Regions from separate parts of the Homo sapiens genome. Here all the other regions are linked to region 3. The links are contacts of gene promoters, found by promoter capture Hi-C in blood cells and fetal thymus (Javierre and others, 2016). All regions are on one chromosome and are shown on one strand. The core of a region is centred on a gene start or on the middle of the fragment in contact, and the rest is flanking DNA. Distances in the headings are between cores, read along the strand shown. Region 1 holds the start of MOAP1 (modulator of apoptosis 1). Region 2 holds the start of ITPK1 (inositol-tetrakisphosphate 1-kinase). Region 3 overlaps UNC79 (unc-79 subunit of NALCN channel complex). Region 4 holds the start of COX8C (cytochrome c oxidase subunit 8C).

Region 1 (3,967 bases), core at 432-2,931, 430 kb after region 3:
ATACAGTAGCCCACTGTTTTGGGATCAGCTCTTGTACAAGAGTATAGGAACAAAAACATCTGTAAGTAAGGTACCAGAAAAATAACTGTCCACACCCAAAAAGGCAAGGAGAGTAATTGAGCTTTCAAGGAGTGTGTCCATGTGGTTCCTTCAAGGGGCTCCTCAGGGTGCTGTTGAATGTGTTCCAAGGCCAGCCTGTTGTAAGTCTCACTGATTTCAAAAACATAGTAAAATGCTGCTGCACTGGCTAACAGATACAATCCCACTCCAATCCATCCCATCCGCTGACGGAAGTTCATCATTCTCCATGCTCTGTGCCTTCAAATTAAAAAAGAAAATACAATTAGGGTCTAGTAATGCTGTCACGGCAACTACTCCAAATGTACTTGCTTTATCTCCAAGAATTCTAGGCCGGGCGCGGTGGCTCGCGCCTGTAATCCCAGCACTTTGGGAGGCTGAGGCGGGTGGATCACGAGGTCAGGTGATAGAGACCATCCTGGCTAACATGGTGAAATCCCGTCTCTACTAAAAATACAAAAAAAATAGCCGGGCGTGGTGGCGGGCACCTGTAGTCCCAGCTACTCGGGAGGCTGAGGCAGGAGAATGGCGTGAACCCAGGAGGCAGAGCTTGCAGAGAGCCGAGATCACGCCACTGCACTCCAGCCTGGGCGACAGAGCGAGACTCTGTCTAATTAAAAAAAAAAAAAAAGAATTCTAAAATATCCCACTAACACACTTAAGATTTAAAATAATTAAATTAAACACCTATTAAGAAATGTAAAACTTACAGGTTGTTTTGTGTAATACTTACAATCAAGTAAAACAACACACACAAAAAAACAAAAAACCATTGATTTCAGTATATACTGAGTTCTGCTTTTTAACGGGAATCCCTCAGAATAAATCACTGCATCCTACTTAAACAGGTCCATAATACCCGCCCTCCAGAAACTGGAATTAAACTAGTTTCTCACAGCACATTTCACTTTGACAGGTGAAACACTTTCTGGCATAACAGTACTGCTTCAGACGTGAACGCGGGGTGCTACAAGTCAAGCCCCCAAGTTAAGACAGTAACTCCTAAGCACTTACAATGGTCCCGAAAATCTTCCTGTTCCCACGGCAAGCGTTAAAGAGTCACTCAGCTCTGAATAATCGGGTGGCTTTGGCATTTCAGAGAAAGCCAACATAAAATAAATCCCCTGGGTCACCCGGCTAGGAGAAAGGTGAGCGCCGCCAGCCTGGAGCACCAGCTACTAGTGATTAAGAACGGCGTGACTGCGGCGGGTCACGCGCGGCCCGGCCCCCGTCGCCGCCGCCGGAGACCCGCTCTGAGAACCTGACCCGGCAGGGAGGCGTCCCCGCCACTTGGGCCTCCGGGCGGCCGGCCCCGCCCCCTGCCGCGCTGCAGCGCCGGCACGCCGCGACCAAGGCTGCGCAGGCGGCGCCAGGCCCGGGCCTCGCCGCCTTGCAGCGCCGCGAGCCCAGCGCCCGTCAGCGGTCGCCGGCGGAGCCTGCTTGCAAAGCTGAGGTCCCGGATCTCACCTTCCTGTCCCGTGGTGGCCAGCCCGCCCGCCGTCCCGGATGCCGCCGCAGTCGGAGCTTCCGGCTCGGGCCGGAAGCGCGCGCGCCCCGCCCCCGAGGCCCGCCCCTCATGACGTCAGATCGCCCCCGCCCGCCGCGCAGCTTCCCCGAGCGAGACCAAAACAGGTGGAATCCGGGCTGGAGCCGGAGCTCCGGCGGCGCGGGTGGCGGCACGTCCCTCCAGGTGGGTGGCTCTCTGGGTCTGGCGACTCAGCGCTCCTCAGCCTTGCCCCCTGGTGCCCGCTCGCGACTGTCATCGCCCCATCACTTCTCGTTGCAGACAGTACCACAGGCACCTGGAGTACCGGCATCGGTCGCTGTGGCCCCCGAGTGTCCGTCAGAGCCTAGGGGAGCCTGCCCTCCCGCGCCTCGTCGGGGCCCGGCCAGGCACCTTGGCCGCCGGCGCACGGACGCGGGCACGAGCACTAGATCACGGTGAGTGGAAGCGGGCCCGACGCGGCCCTGCAGGCCCGACATCCGCCAGGCACCAGGGCTGGGAGGGGTGAGGGGCGCGCGCCGCAGTGCGGCTGCCCTGGCGTCGCCGCTGGGGGCAGGGCGCGCGGGGCTTGGGGCCTGCACGCTTGCCCTGGACGTTGGCACCTTTAGCTAACCTGTCTGCTCTGTCTTGCAGGCTGCTGGACCTCGGCACGTTGACAAGATTTCTCTGGGGTACCGCGGAGGATTACTTTGAATTTCGGTGGTCGCCTGTGGTCTGGCATATTTAGAACTTAAGTCTATTATTTCGGGCACCATGACTTTGAGGCTTTTAGAAGACTGGTGCAGGGGGATGGACATGAACCCTCGGAAAGCGCTATTGATTGCCGGCATCTCCCAGAGCTGCAGTGTGGCAGAAATCGAGGAGGCTCTGCAGGCTGGTTTAGCTCCCTTGGGGGAGTACAGACTGCTTGGAAGGATGTTCAGGAGGGATGAGAACAGGAAAGTAGCCTTAGTAGGGCTTACTGCGGAGACTAGTCACGCCCTGGTCCCTAAGGAGATACCGGGAAAAGGGGGTATCTGGAGAGTGATCTTTAAGCCCCCTGACCCAGATAATACATTTTTAAGCAGATTAAATGAATTTTTAGCGGGAGAGGGCATGACAGTGGGTGAGTTGAGCAGAGCTCTTGGACATGAAAATGGCTCCTTAGACCCAGAGCAGGGCATGATCCCGGAAATGTGGGCCCCTATGTTGGCACAGGCATTAGAGGCTCTTCAGCCTGCCCTGCAATGCTTGAAGTATAAAAAGCTGAGAGTGTTCTCGGGCAGGGAGTCTCCAGAACCAGGAGAAGAAGAATTTGGACGCTGGATGTTTCATACTACTCAGATGATAAAGGCGTGGCAGGTGCCAGATGTAGAGAAGAGAAGGCGATTGCTAGAGAGCCTTCGAGGCCCAGCACTTGATGTTATTCGTGTCCTCAAGATAAACAATCCTTTAATTACTGTCGATGAATGTCTGCAGGCTCTTGAGGAGGTATTTGGGGTTACAGATAATCCTAGGGAGTTGCAGGTCAAATATCTAACCACTTACCAGAAGGATGAGGAAAAGTTGTCGGCTTATGTACTAAGGCTGGAGCCTTTGTTACAGAAGCTGGTACAGAGAGGAGCAATTGAGAGAGATGCTGTGAATCAGGCCCGCCTAGACCAAGTCATTGCTGGGGCAGTCCACAAAACAATTCGCAGAGAGCTTAATCTGCCAGAGGATGGCCCAGCCCCTGGTTTCTTGCAGTTATTGGTACTAATAAAGGATTATGAGGCAGCTGAGGAGGAGGAGGCCCTTCTCCAGGCAATATTGGAAGGTAATTTCACCTGAGTCTCAGGGAACCACGAAGGGATATGGCAATGAGTAGAGCATGAAGGTAGAACAGTCTATATACTCTTGTGACACATACAATCCCTACCTTGTGCTGCCAAGTAACTCATTTTTGTGCAATTCTCAGTATAAGCCCTTTGTCGTTTCTGTGCCTATTTAAAGTCTCCTAAAGGTGTAATTGACTAGGAAGGATGTAGTTCTACACTGCCATTTACCTATTTAAATTCATCCTTGTGAATATCTTTGTTGTTGTTGTTGAGACAGAGTCTCGCTCTGTCACCCAGGCTGGAGTGCAGTGGCGTGATCTTGGCTCACTGCATCCTCCGCCTTCCAGGTTTAAGCTATTCTCCTGCCTCAGTTGCCCGAGTAGCTGGGACTACAGGCATGTGCCACCACGCCCAGCTAAGTTTTGCATTATCAGTAGAGACGGGGTTTCACCATGTTGGCCAGGCTAGTTTCGAACTCCTGACCTCAAGTGATCCACCTGCTTCGGCCTCTGAAAGTGCTGGGATTACAGGCGTGAGACACTGCGCCCAGCCTCATCCCTGTGAATTTCTTATTGTACACAAGTTCTTT
Region 2 (3,621 bases), core at 782-3,281, 500 kb after region 3:
AGGAGTGAGGGAATTCCAGGAACCCTCCTGAACCACCCAGCCTCAACTGGTCTTTCAGTTCCTAAGAACAGCAGGACATTTAAAGTCGATGCCTGTAATCCCTACTGCTGACTTCAAGTATCAAGTTTATAGTTGCTGCCCCCATCCCCTTCGTTTTTACTCCCTTAGCCGCCTTCTTTTTTTTTTTTTTTTTTTGAGACGGAGTCTCACTCTGTTGCCCAGGCTAGAGTGCAGTGGCACGATCTCAGCTCACTGCCAGCTCTGCCTCCCAGGTTCACGCCATTCTCCTGCCTTAGCCTCCCAAGTAGCTGGGACTACAGGCGCCCGCCACCACGCCCGGCTAATTTTTTGTATTTTTAGTAGAGACAGGGTTTCACCGTGTTAGCCAGGATGATCTCAATCTCCTGACCTCATGATGTGCCCACCTCGGCCTCCCAAAGTGCTGGGATTACAGGCATGAGCCACCATGCGCAGCCTCCCTTAGCCTTCTTTTATCCATCTTGTGCCTCGGCCCTAGGGGTCCTTGCTATGATCTTCCCTTTATCCAGCTTTCCATGTCCCCCCCAGGAGCCAGGCATTCTAAGCCACAGAGCTGACCCTGGAACCTGTCACCACTTACCTTCTAGGCTCCCATGGCCTATGAAACTCGCAGTACCCTTGCCTAAGGCATGCAGTGCCCGTCCCTAGCTGGCCCCCTGGAGGAGTCCTGTTTCCCACCCATCGTCTTTTCCACTCTCCATCCATCCGTTTTCTCTACCTTGTTAAAGAAAAAAACTAATCAGATTCTCGTTAAAGATGGCAGGGAAGCCAGGCGGGGTGGCTCAGGTCTACAATCCCAGCACTTTGGGAGGCCCAGGTGGGAGGACAGCTTGAGGCCAGGAGTTCGAGACCTGCCTGGGCAACACAGTGTAGTCCCAGCTGCTCGGGAGGCTGAGGTGGGAGGATCAGTTTAGCAGGGGTGTTCGAGGCTGCAGTGAGCTATGACTGCACCATTGCACTCCAGCCTGGGCAGCATAGAGAGATCCTTGTCTTTCTTTTTTTTTTGAGACGGAGTTTCTTAATGTAGGCCGGCCAGGGTGATCACATACCAAGCGTGGAGATATTCTTGACAGCAGGATTCTGGCTAAAACTGGACTAAGAAGGCCAAGGACAGAGCCCAAGGTCGGGGCCTGGTCAGAAAGAGGTCTCGGAGGAGCCTGACTCAAGTGTGATCAAGGGAAGTCTTGGTCACCCGCTGGCAACTTGGCTTTTTCTTGTCTCCCAGCCTCAATTCAAGCTCATCCCCCTTCCCTGCTCCATCAAAATCTCCTTGATTTCCAAGGCCAGCTTCAGTGTCTCCTCTCAAACTTTTCTGAGCCTTCCCTCCACGGGAATCCATTTTTCCTGCCTGGGCCTGGGGAGAGAAGTCCATTTCTCCTTCCCAAACCCAGAGACCATTGAGGCAGGAAAGCTCCCTGGCTGCCCCATAGGGCAGGGCAGGGTAGGCGGGGTTTAGTGACTCCCCGGCGCCGACGCTGACCCGCACCCCTGAGGAAGGGGTCTCCGGGGACGGCCGCTGTTGTCGCTGTCGCCTCCAGTCCCCGCCCCTTCCCCCCTCAGTGAAGGGGACCTAGAGTGAGAACTGGTGGTCACGTCCTACGCCTAGGAGGGCCCCTGGGTGTTCACCCACCCCCCCGGGGGGCCCCATCCTGGGCCAGGGTCCGCTTCCTCGAGGGAAGGGGCGAATTCCTGGAAGGTCTCCTTCCGGGCGCAGTTGCAATGGATTGCCTTGGGGGTGCTGAACCCTGCTGGGGGTACAGAGACGTTTCCGAAACTCAGCGGCTCGGTCGCCCCCAAAGGCCAGGCGGAACACACGCCCACACCGCGGCTCCCTTCCCGAAGTAAGACCGCCGGGCCACGGCCGCCCCCAGGAAGCCCCGCGCCCCGCACCCCACACCCGGGGACACAAACAGGCGCCGGGTAGCCGCGAGGGCCGGCGCGGCGCCTTTAAGAGGCGGCGGGCGGCGCTGCCCCCTGGCGGCCGCCCCGCCGCTTCCTCGCCGCCGCGGGCTCAAGCGGGGCGGCCGGGCCAGCGCGGGGCGGCGGCGGGCAGGGGCGGCGAGTGCGCGGGCGCTCGCCGCCGCCCTTCTCGGCGGGCAGCGCGCGAGGACCAGGCCGAGGAGGAAGTGGCGGCGGCGGCGGCGGGTGAGGATCTCTGGCCGGGCCGAGTGGCCGCGTGCGCCCCGCCGGGGTCCAAGCGCGCCCAGGGGTTACGGCCCGGCTGGGAACATCAGAGGGCGAGGACCCGGGCGGGAGGAGGAGGGAGGAAGGGCTCGGAGGCCGCGCTTCTGCCGCCGCCTGAGGGCGTGTGGCTCGGGCCCGCGCGGCGGGAGGGCGGGCAGGGCGGGGGCGGTGTCTGCGGAGGCCCGGCTTCCCCTCCTGCGGGCCCTGGCCCCAGCTCCGACTCAGACTCAGGCTCAGCCGTGCCCCAGCCTCAGCCGGCAGGCCGGGCGGCGCGGCGCTCGCGAGCCGGTGGGCGGGCGGGCGAGCCCGCAGGCGGCGGGGGCGTGGGCGGTGGCAGCTTGGCCCAGCCAGTGGCCTTCCGCGCTGAGCGCCGCTCCCTCCTCCCGGCCGCCCGCCGCGCCCCGCCCCGCTCCGCTCCGCGCGGCAGGACTGCGCGCCCCAGCTCCGATCCCCGTTCCGCGTCCCCGCCGCCGGGAGGAGGTGCCCACTCGCTCGCGGCGCGCGCCGGCCGCCAGACTCGGCCTGTGGGCGATTTCCTCCGGACCCAGGCTCCCCGCCCGAGGAGGAAGATGCAGACCTTTCTGAAAGGGAAGAGAGTTGGCTACTGGCTGAGCGAGAAGAAAATCAAGAAGCTGAATTTCCAGGCCTTCGCCGAGCTGTGCAGGTAAGGAGGGACGCGGCGCCGGCGCCCGGGGACCCCCGGCCCGAGCCCGGTGACCCCCGGCCCGAGCCCGGTGCAGCCTCATTAGTTGTTTTGGGAGATCGGAGCCAAACGGGAAGAAGCGGCGCGCGGGGAGACTGAGTCCGAGCAGCCAGGTGGCGGTGGCGGCCGCCGGCCGCGTTCCAGGGAAGCGGTGGCCGGTGCGGGCGAGGTGGCACGGACCGGGGCGTTCAGGTGCACTGTGACCCGGCTGGGGAGGCCCCCAGCAGCCCAGGGCGCGGTGGGAGTTCTACTGAGGGTTGCGGAGGGACCTGGGAAATCGGGGCATCCACGCTGTGGGGTAAGGGCTTGAGGGTACTTTTGGACCGGAGTGTTTTTCTTCCTTCGTCCCCTTCCCTTTCATGAAGAAAGGGCACCCACGTTTGTGGACCACCTACTATGTGCCCCGCGTGTGCTCGGCTCTTGAGGCTGTCATTGCATATCATGAGGTTAAGCCCAGTTGAAGCGAGTAGCAATTCTTGGCATGTATGTGGTGATTTGCTGTCTCATTAGAGCCTCGCAGCAGCCCTGCAAATTGGCCAGGGTGGTGATTCTGGGCCACCTGTCTGAGAACGGGGACCGATCGGCAGAGGAGCGGGGTACCTAGCTTGGGGTCCCGCAGCTAGGGAGTGGCTGGTGCGTAGAAAGTGCTGGGTAAATGCCCGTGGTGTGGAGTGGCCTTCTGCCATCTGGGCTGT
Region 3 (4,248 bases), core at 945-3,444:
AATGGCAGTTTAAGATCTGATTTCCAAAATCGGGCTTCGGGATAATTCCTCAGCTCTGTTCATTTGTGCATAGGAGAGGGGATCATTTTTTGGCTGAGGCAGATCTAGGAAACTGTATTCAAATCGTGTGGAAGAGAAGCAAACATTTTGCAACAAATCAAATCAAGCAATGGCTCTCAAAGACGATCATGACATTAATGATGTATCTGTCGATTCACGTATATATATAAATGTGTATATATATATACTGTTTGTGCATACATATATATAAATCAACGGTATTAAAATGTGTAGTAACATAATAAAATTAAGATTTCACCCCAAACAAACGGTAGAGTACAACATTTCTGCATAAAATTACTAAGAGAAAAAATTCATACTTCTCTGAACATTCATCTCAACCGGCTGATATTTCACCATTTTGCTGCCGCCTATTCTTTTCAATCTTGCAAAAAAAGTTTGAGACTCTTTATTGCAGGGTCCAGTAGGTGTATCATGAATATCAGATTCATCAAAAACACTATCTTCTTCTAATTGGGGAGAGAAAGTCAAAATTACACTTAAGAGGTTATTCTCTCTTAGGCTGTGTCTACACAAGCATTTCAATGAAAGCATTATGGAACAAGGTCTGGGTTAGTTTCTGCACCAGCCCAAGTCTAGCCATGGGTTGGTATTTCATCCAGGCATCAAATTCTCCATCTATTGGACAGAGCAAGCTGTTACAAGATTGCCCATCACTTTTCACATGACAATTGGCAGCATTTTTAAGGAGAGGCTTCTTGAGAGTCCAATAGCGCCTTTTTGGGAAACTTTTCCAGTGTGCTTAACACCAGATGACACATAGATGTCAGCTACTTTTTCCAGGAGCCTGTGACACTGCTTGGACTTGTCTGCTTTGCGTGGATTTTCAGGCTGATTTGGCGAAAGGAAATTAAACAAAATGAGTGGATCTTGGGCTTTCCAAAAAAGAAAAAAAAATCTGCCTTTATGGGATTTGGTAACTGGCATAGACACAGCCTAACAGTACATGCACCTTATACGGTGTGAATGCAAAATACTGTACTCTACATTTGATAATGAGACACGCAACACACAGAAAAAGCTTAGAAAAGCCACTTGTCATCTCAAAAGCTCCACGAATGATTATGGACTGAAAGAGTAAACAAAGGAAAAAGAAAACAGAAAATAACATTTCCTCCTATTAAAGTAAGACTCTTCTCTGAGGCGCTTACCACGTGTAACTATTACGGATCTCATGAATCCCAGAAAGAATCTTTGACACTTATGATCCCTAATCCTACATAAACAAACCGGTCACTTTGAGTGCCTGTTGAACTTGTTTCTACGTCCTCCCTTCTACACCCATGTGGCCATTTTTAAATCCAAGATAAACCCCAAAATATGTTAATGAGGAAAGAGTTCATATGTTGCAACCCATAAAGTTTACTTAACCAATTTTCTTCTTTCGTCCTTTTGAAAGGCCAAAGCCACGTACAAAGTGGCAACAGAAAAGGCTACTAAAATGCATTTAATAGCATCATAATGAGTTTACCTACTATTCAAGTTGAATATCACTGAACTCATAATGTTTGGCCTGTATTTACATCTACCTATATGACAAATGAGGCTCAGGTGCGATTATGATTATTCAAGGTTTTTTTTAGCATAAGGGCAGTATATACATCAAGTTTTAAGGACTGACCCTGTTCTAATGCACAAAATTCTACAAGTAAATGAAACTTGAAGTAGTAAATTTTAGATGAAATAACCATACTAAACTTTTTAATTAAATAAAAATAAATGTTAATCAAAATGAATTTGTTTTTAAACCCAGTGAACTTCCACAAAGATGGGAATGCCTATCAAATTCCCATGTTTCTGGGGAAACGCAACACAATAATCTGTTTTACTTCTCTATTTCCTTTTTGGAAAAATATCCTTTGAAAAATGCAGTTTTTCCAACCAATAGTTACGTGACTTGCATTACATAACTTTGAAACAATTTTCAAAATGCATTGAACACTCAAGACTGAAAGACCACAAGATGGCGCCTCCCATCCAGAAAGGTTCATCAGGGTTTGGCCCAAACACTAAGCCCACGCTGAAAACATCCATAGCTTAACAGATCTCCCCAATTTGCCAGAGACTAAACCCTAAACTGGTAGACAAGATATTCTTTAGGAGGGATCTGAATGGTACCAGAACTTAAAGAACCTAGTTCTCGAGTTCCGTCTGTAGCCAAACTAGATTTTTGGAACTTTCAGCAATAACAAACAGGAACACTGGTACAATTTATACTTTTGAGGTATCTCCAGAGCAGTCCTACTAAAACAGACTCTACTAACCTCATAAAGGGTCAGTGGACACTTGGTTTTTTCCAAAGACTAGATTAAATGATGTCAATTTAAAATCTAGTCAGCCGTGACTTACACTAAAAACTAAAAATATACACCCTGGTTCTTCGTGTCTCACCTGAAAACAGGCTGCAATTTTACCCTAGCTAAAGTTGCATTCTACTGCCCCTTTTAGAAAAAGGTAGCAATAGAAAAAGTGTTGATAATGGAGATAGCTTACACCTATGCAGCAAAAATGTTTCATTTCCCTTGCCTTGAATCACTTTGTATTAAATTAAAAGTCTAGGAAAAAGCACTTCAGCAAACTTAGACTCCATTGAAACTCTATGAGCGCAAAGACCAGGGCAAACTAGAGACCTACAAAGAATGGCTCCACTGTGTGCCAACCAAGACTTATTTTATAGCCCAAAAACGAGATGCTTCTAACACGTAAGAAAAGGCTTACAAAGGCTCCTGATTCAAACAGCAGAAAATATCTTACAAAATATTATTTCTTATGATACAGGCTTTGGAAGCACATCATTTATTCCTCTTGAATGCTCAATTTCAAAGTTAAAGCAGCAACATTCATGGAAAGTTGGAAAATTAAGAAAGTGATTTTTTTTTTTACTCCAGAATGATATCTGGGAACACTCTTCTATCTCCTAAGAAAACATTGTCCAGAAATCTATTATGTATTGAAGCTAGGTTTGGGATAGAATTTAGATATGTACCTTTTTCTTTTTCGCTGTATCTGCTTATGTTACTGTTGTCACTGTACAAAGGTCCTGCCGTGGCATGGGGCTTGCAGCTATGATACTGCGCATTGAGTGTATTGACTGTTATGTGAATCAGATGCAGCAGGATCTTGCTGATATCACAGTCTCGGTATGGATACTGCCCAATGAAACGAGAGAGAAAAAGATAAATGGTTATTTTAGAGGGTAAGCTTTTCCACCTGATCTTGCTGGATACTTTTTGCAGTATCTCTTGGGGATAAATATATATATGAGAGAGAGAGAGAAGTAGAAACAAATTCTGCTCATGGCCTTATTTATTTGTTTAGTTAGAGACAGGGTCTCACTCTGTCACCCAGGTTGGAGTGCTGTGGCGTGATCATAGCAGCCTACCGGGCTCAGGTGATCCTCCCACCTCAGCCTCCCAAGTAGGTGGGACCAGGCACGTGCAACCATGCTTGGCTAATTTTTTGTAGAGATGGGATTTCACCATGTTGCTCAGGCTGGGCTCGAACTCCCGGAGTCAGGCAACCTACCCACCTCGGCCTCCCATAAGTGCTGGGATTACAGCAGTGAGCCACCACGCCCTCCCCCATGGCCTTATTTTTACAAGGGACCATATTCATTTCCTCCTTCACCAAACCACTGACAGCAATGCATGCCAGTTCATAGTTACATTTCTTTTCAAGAAAATTATCTGGCATAAACCTTTAGTGGATGAATACAATTTCAGATATCTTTTGTTTTCTGAAATAATAATACTTAGACAAAATACAAGACTGAGTATAAACAGAGGTTCTTGATCAGTAGCCTACCATTTATCATTCTTTGTTTTAAACATTTTTAGAGCATATATTAACAGGGCCTCCCATTTCTATTTTCATTTCAATAGCTCTTTGGTTCTTAACAGTAATTGCATATCCTGATCTTCCTTCTGAAGGTCAAACTTCTACAAAATTTTCAACTAAAGACTCAGGTGTTCTCCTAATGCTATATGCTCTCTAAGAGAACCATTGCATCCAAAACAGCAGTGACCACCCAGCTCACCTTGTAAAGGATGACAAGCAAGGCCTTCAACCACATCTGCCGGATGTGAGGCTTTAGGGACCAGAGGGAGCAACGAGGCGGCTGTTGGAAATAATGCCGGAGTTGAGGACAAGAGCAGTATTTGAGCACCT
Region 4 (3,639 bases), core at 559-3,058, 270 kb after region 3:
CAAGATTTATTGCGAAGAGCGAAAGAACAAAGCTTCCACAGTGCGGAAGGGGACCCCAGCGGGTTGCCCAACTTCTATTTATTGACTATTGTTTCAGGTACTATGTTGAGAGGTACTTTATCTTTCTTTGTTCAATGTTTTATTTCCACAACATCACTTCAAGACAGCAATTTTAAGTCCCCATTACAGAGATAAGGAAACCAAGACTCAGAGTTGAACTATGTTGCCCATGATAACAGCATCATCAACAGCTAAGACAGTTCAAAGATGTGTATGATTCTTCAAACCTCACAGAAGACTAAGAGAAGATAATAAAATCATTAAAATAGGAGATGTACTCATTCTTCACATTCTGACGTGTAGTCATTTAAAGAGGCAAAGAAATGGTTGTACTTCTCACAGCAAATTGTGAAGTGTGGCATGGCAGTACTAATAGAACATAAAAACCATTTAGCTAAACTTATATTACCTCACAGCTACACATCTAATCTTTTAAGGGTGATGTCACTAGATACATTCACTCCCATATAGTAACAATGTCACTCCCTGAGTCACTAAGTCAGACCTTTCACAGCAGTTCTCGGTAAATTTTCATCAGCTTTCACGATGTTTAGAAAATAATCTGCACACATATTACCAAGCACGAATAAGTGTTTCCGTTTTATTTAACACTTAAGCAGAACATTTTTGACTATACATCTATATAATGCACAGTACTAAAAAAGTGCAAAATATTCATCATAAACATGAGGAAAGTGAATACCACAATGGTTGCATCAACTCAACTAGGCAATTTTGCTCGTTAACAAAAACACAGCTTTTTCTGAAAGTTTTTTGGACGTTAACAGCTGTTCAACATCATCTTCCATCTAATTCCTTCTGAACTGCTTCAGGTTGCCTAGCACATATGCAGCTGGTGTTAAGAAGGTCGTAAAAAACACCACAAGTCCAACAGCCATTTCCTGGAAGAGAAGATGACACGCGCTGCTGAGTATGGCTTCCTAGGCCAGTGACTTGCTGCCTAACAAAAAGTGCTTAAAAAAAACATTTTGAGCACCTAGACCGTTGTCCTAGAAACAGGCGCCTAGTGAAATCTAAAATGCTGAAAATCGATTCATGGATCACCTGATTTTTTTTTTTAATTCATTTTTCATCTAAGGGGTCTCCGGTTCCAACCTTCGCACTCTGGAACTTCGATGTGGCCCAGGATTTCCACCATTTTATCGAAAACGCTAGATCTTCGCAGTGCCGAGGACGTCCGAGGATGGTAAATCATTCCTCCGCGAAACCACAGCCCCGCCCCCGAGCCAGGTGCCGGTAAAGGGTAACAACGAAGGAGGCCCAATCCCCGCGCGTTCCTCAGGGTCCCGGGCTTTCCGCCCCTGTGCCCGACGACGGCATCCTCACCGCGACCCTCTCCCAGGAACCTCCCCCAAAGGCGACCAAGCCACAGGAACCTCCCCCAACGGCGACCAAGCCACAAGAGCCTCCCACGCGAGGCCTGCACGCCGTGTCCTCCCTTCTCCCCACCCGTCGGGGCGCCCCGCCAGGGCCACGCGCTTCCCGCCCACCATGATGGCTGGGCCTCAACTCACCGCGGCAGACAGGGGCCGCTGGCGCGGGGGCCCCGAGTGGGCGAAGCGGGGAGCGGGCTGCAGGCCGAGCAGGGCCAAGCGGCGGTAGTGGCGGCGGGCAGGACAGCGCCCACGCAGGAGAGGCATATCGCGTCAGGTGAGACAAAGCCAGGCGTGGACAGCACAGGTGAGGTGAGGCCAAGTAACGCAAGCTCCAGTGCTCGTGAGGCAGCTGGTTTGCGCAGGCGCCCCAGCCACGAGGGGGCGCTCTGCCCTCGCCCCCTACCCCACCCCTTCTGCCCAGCACCTCCTGCTCTGCCCCGCCTCTTCCGCTCACCACTCCTTTCTCTGTACTGCCCTTTCCACTCAGCAGTCCGTGCTTTGCCCCACCCCCTCTGCTTAGCACCACTTGCTCTGCACCACCCCTTCCACCCAGCACACCCCTGCTCTGCTCCACTCTCTTCAGTTCAGTACCCCCTGCTCTGCCCCGCCTTTTCCACTCAGGGCTCCCTGCAACCTCCCAGCCCTCATTCACCTCACTTTCCACCCACGTGTCCTATCCTCTCCTAAACTCTCCTGCCACCCTCCCCTGAGCCCCAACCCCACCTCACACTAAGTATCTCTTTTCTGCAGGGTAAGGTGAGGGACTTGGCACCCCTACTCCTTTCCTTTGTCTTCCTCTCTACCTATACTTTATATACCTCTTAACATGCCCTGGCATTGGCAGAGTTTATAGCACACTGTTTCTAATGCAAATTAAATCTTCCATAAAATGTCTATAGGTTAATTCTTAACACTGAAAACCAAGAACAAGTTTCTATAGTCGGCTGATGATATAAAAAATATTCATGGCAGGGTCAAATAGAGTGTTTGGACCCAGTAGAAACAGTGATGTAATTATCTGTCACTACGGCTAATTTTCTTATTTTTTTGTAGAGACAGGTCTCACTGTGTCACCCAGGCTGATCTCAAACTCCTGGGCTCAAGCCATCCTCTTGTCTCAGCCTCCCAAAGTACTGGGATTACAGGCATGAGGCACTGTGCCCAGACCCTCTTGAGGGAAAAGTAAATATACTGTGATTTTTAAATTTAGTACTGTAATAAAACTTTATCCACTACAATGATCCTGTGTCTTCACATTATTTCTTTTGGGGGCCTATTGCACGAGTAACACTCTAGGGTTTCTCTGGATTCCTCTGTTCCTGCAGCCTGGTATCTTCCTCTTTCTTAGATTTCTTTTCGTTTTGCTGTAGTACATCCTTAAGCTGTTCTTTCAGGAAGGGTTTGTAGGTGATAAAGTTCCTCAGTCCTTGGAAATCAAAATATATATATATTGGTCTCCATTTAAATGCTAATTTGAATGGTTATAGAACTCTGGGCTCAAAATCATTGTCCTTCAGAGATTTTCAAAAGGCATTGTTCCTTTCTTTTCCAGCATCTAGTGAGCCGATAAATATAATGCCAATATAGTTGTCATTCCTTTGAGTACCCTCTTTTTTCCTTTTGGGAATCTTTTAGGCATTCCTTTTTGTCTTTGGAATTGTGACGTTCCTCCAGGATACTGTTAGATATGGGTATTTTTCCATTCATATGGATTAGCAGTGGGTAAGACCTTTCTATCTGAAGTCATGGTTCTTTAGCCATAGGAGCACTATTCCTATTTATTTGCTTCTCTGTTTTCTTTGTTCTCAACCTAAAATTCTTATTGACGGACACTGGCCCTTCTTAGCGGGTCACCTCTGTCTTTCAACCTTTTTCTCACTCATCAACGTTTTGTCCCTTGTTCTACATTTTGCAGGATTTCCTTGACTTTTTCTTCTAGCCCATGATTTTTTATTTTAGAATTATAGTTTTAAAACATACTATTTTTTGCTTTTACAGTCACCTGTTAGTATTTTATAGATATTATCACTTTAGATTTCTTTCAGAATATTAATCTGAACTTTTAAAAAGTTATCTCTATTCCATGAACTGTGTTTCTTTAGCGTACATTCTATTTATTTATTTTGAACTTGCCAGTTTTATTCAAGTATCTTATGATCCTTGGTTGTCATTTCATGCTTAT

What was found. Contacts are between HindIII fragments. The CHiCAGO score rates a contact against its expected background, and 5 or more counts as called.
Region 1: the fragment with the promoter of MOAP1 here is called in contact with a fragment that was not itself captured in region 3 in 1 of 17 cell types (M2 macrophages); the score reaches 6.7 in M2 macrophages.
Region 2: the fragment with the promoter of ITPK1 here is called in contact with a fragment that was not itself captured in region 3 in 2 of 17 cell types (total B cells and naive B cells); the score reaches 9.3 in total B cells.
Region 4: a contact is called between the fragment with the promoter of COX8C here and a fragment that was not itself captured in region 3, in 1 of 17 cell types (M1 macrophages). The highest score is 5.5, in M1 macrophages.

What each region holds. Positions count from the first base shown.
Region 1 is chr14:93,182,611-93,186,577 of GRCh38, reverse strand. It overlaps MOAP1 (modulator of apoptosis 1), which reads left to right and starts at 1,681. Exons shown (of 3, transcript NM_022151.5): 1 at 1,681-1,768; 2 at 1,865-2,019; 3 at 2,216-3,967. The coding sequence starts at 2,336. The coding sequence ends at 3,391. LYSET (lysosomal enzyme trafficking factor) reads right to left here and starts at 1,261. Exons shown (of 2, transcript NM_001098621.4): 1 at 1,093-1,261; 2 at 1-318. The coding sequence starts at 1,172. The HindIII fragment of the contact is 7,901 bases long and covers 1-3,967 here.
Region 2 is chr14:93,114,335-93,117,955 of GRCh38, reverse strand. ITPK1 (inositol-tetrakisphosphate 1-kinase) reads left to right here and starts at 2,031. Exons shown (of 11, transcript NM_014216.6): 1 at 2,031-2,184; 2 at 2,651-2,887. The coding sequence starts at 2,793. The HindIII fragment of the contact is 12,611 bases long and covers 1-3,621 here.
Region 3 is chr14:93,617,174-93,621,421 of GRCh38, reverse strand. It overlaps UNC79 (unc-79 subunit of NALCN channel complex), which reads right to left. Exons shown (of 52, transcript NM_001395159.1): 29 at 4,118-4,248; 30 at 3,068-3,230; 31 at 381-530. Among named protein-coding and RNA genes, the nearest start is that of PRIMA1, 170 kb to the left of the region's middle. The HindIII fragment of the contact is 2,180 bases long and covers 1,105-3,284 here.
Region 4 is chr14:93,345,351-93,348,989 of GRCh38, reverse strand. COX8C (cytochrome c oxidase subunit 8C) reads right to left here and starts at 1,808. Exons shown (of 2, transcript NM_182971.3): 1 at 1,596-1,808; 2 at 634-962. The coding sequence starts at 1,721. The coding sequence ends at 870. It also overlaps a transcript of UNC79 not described here. The HindIII fragment of the contact is 4,764 bases long and covers 35-3,639 here.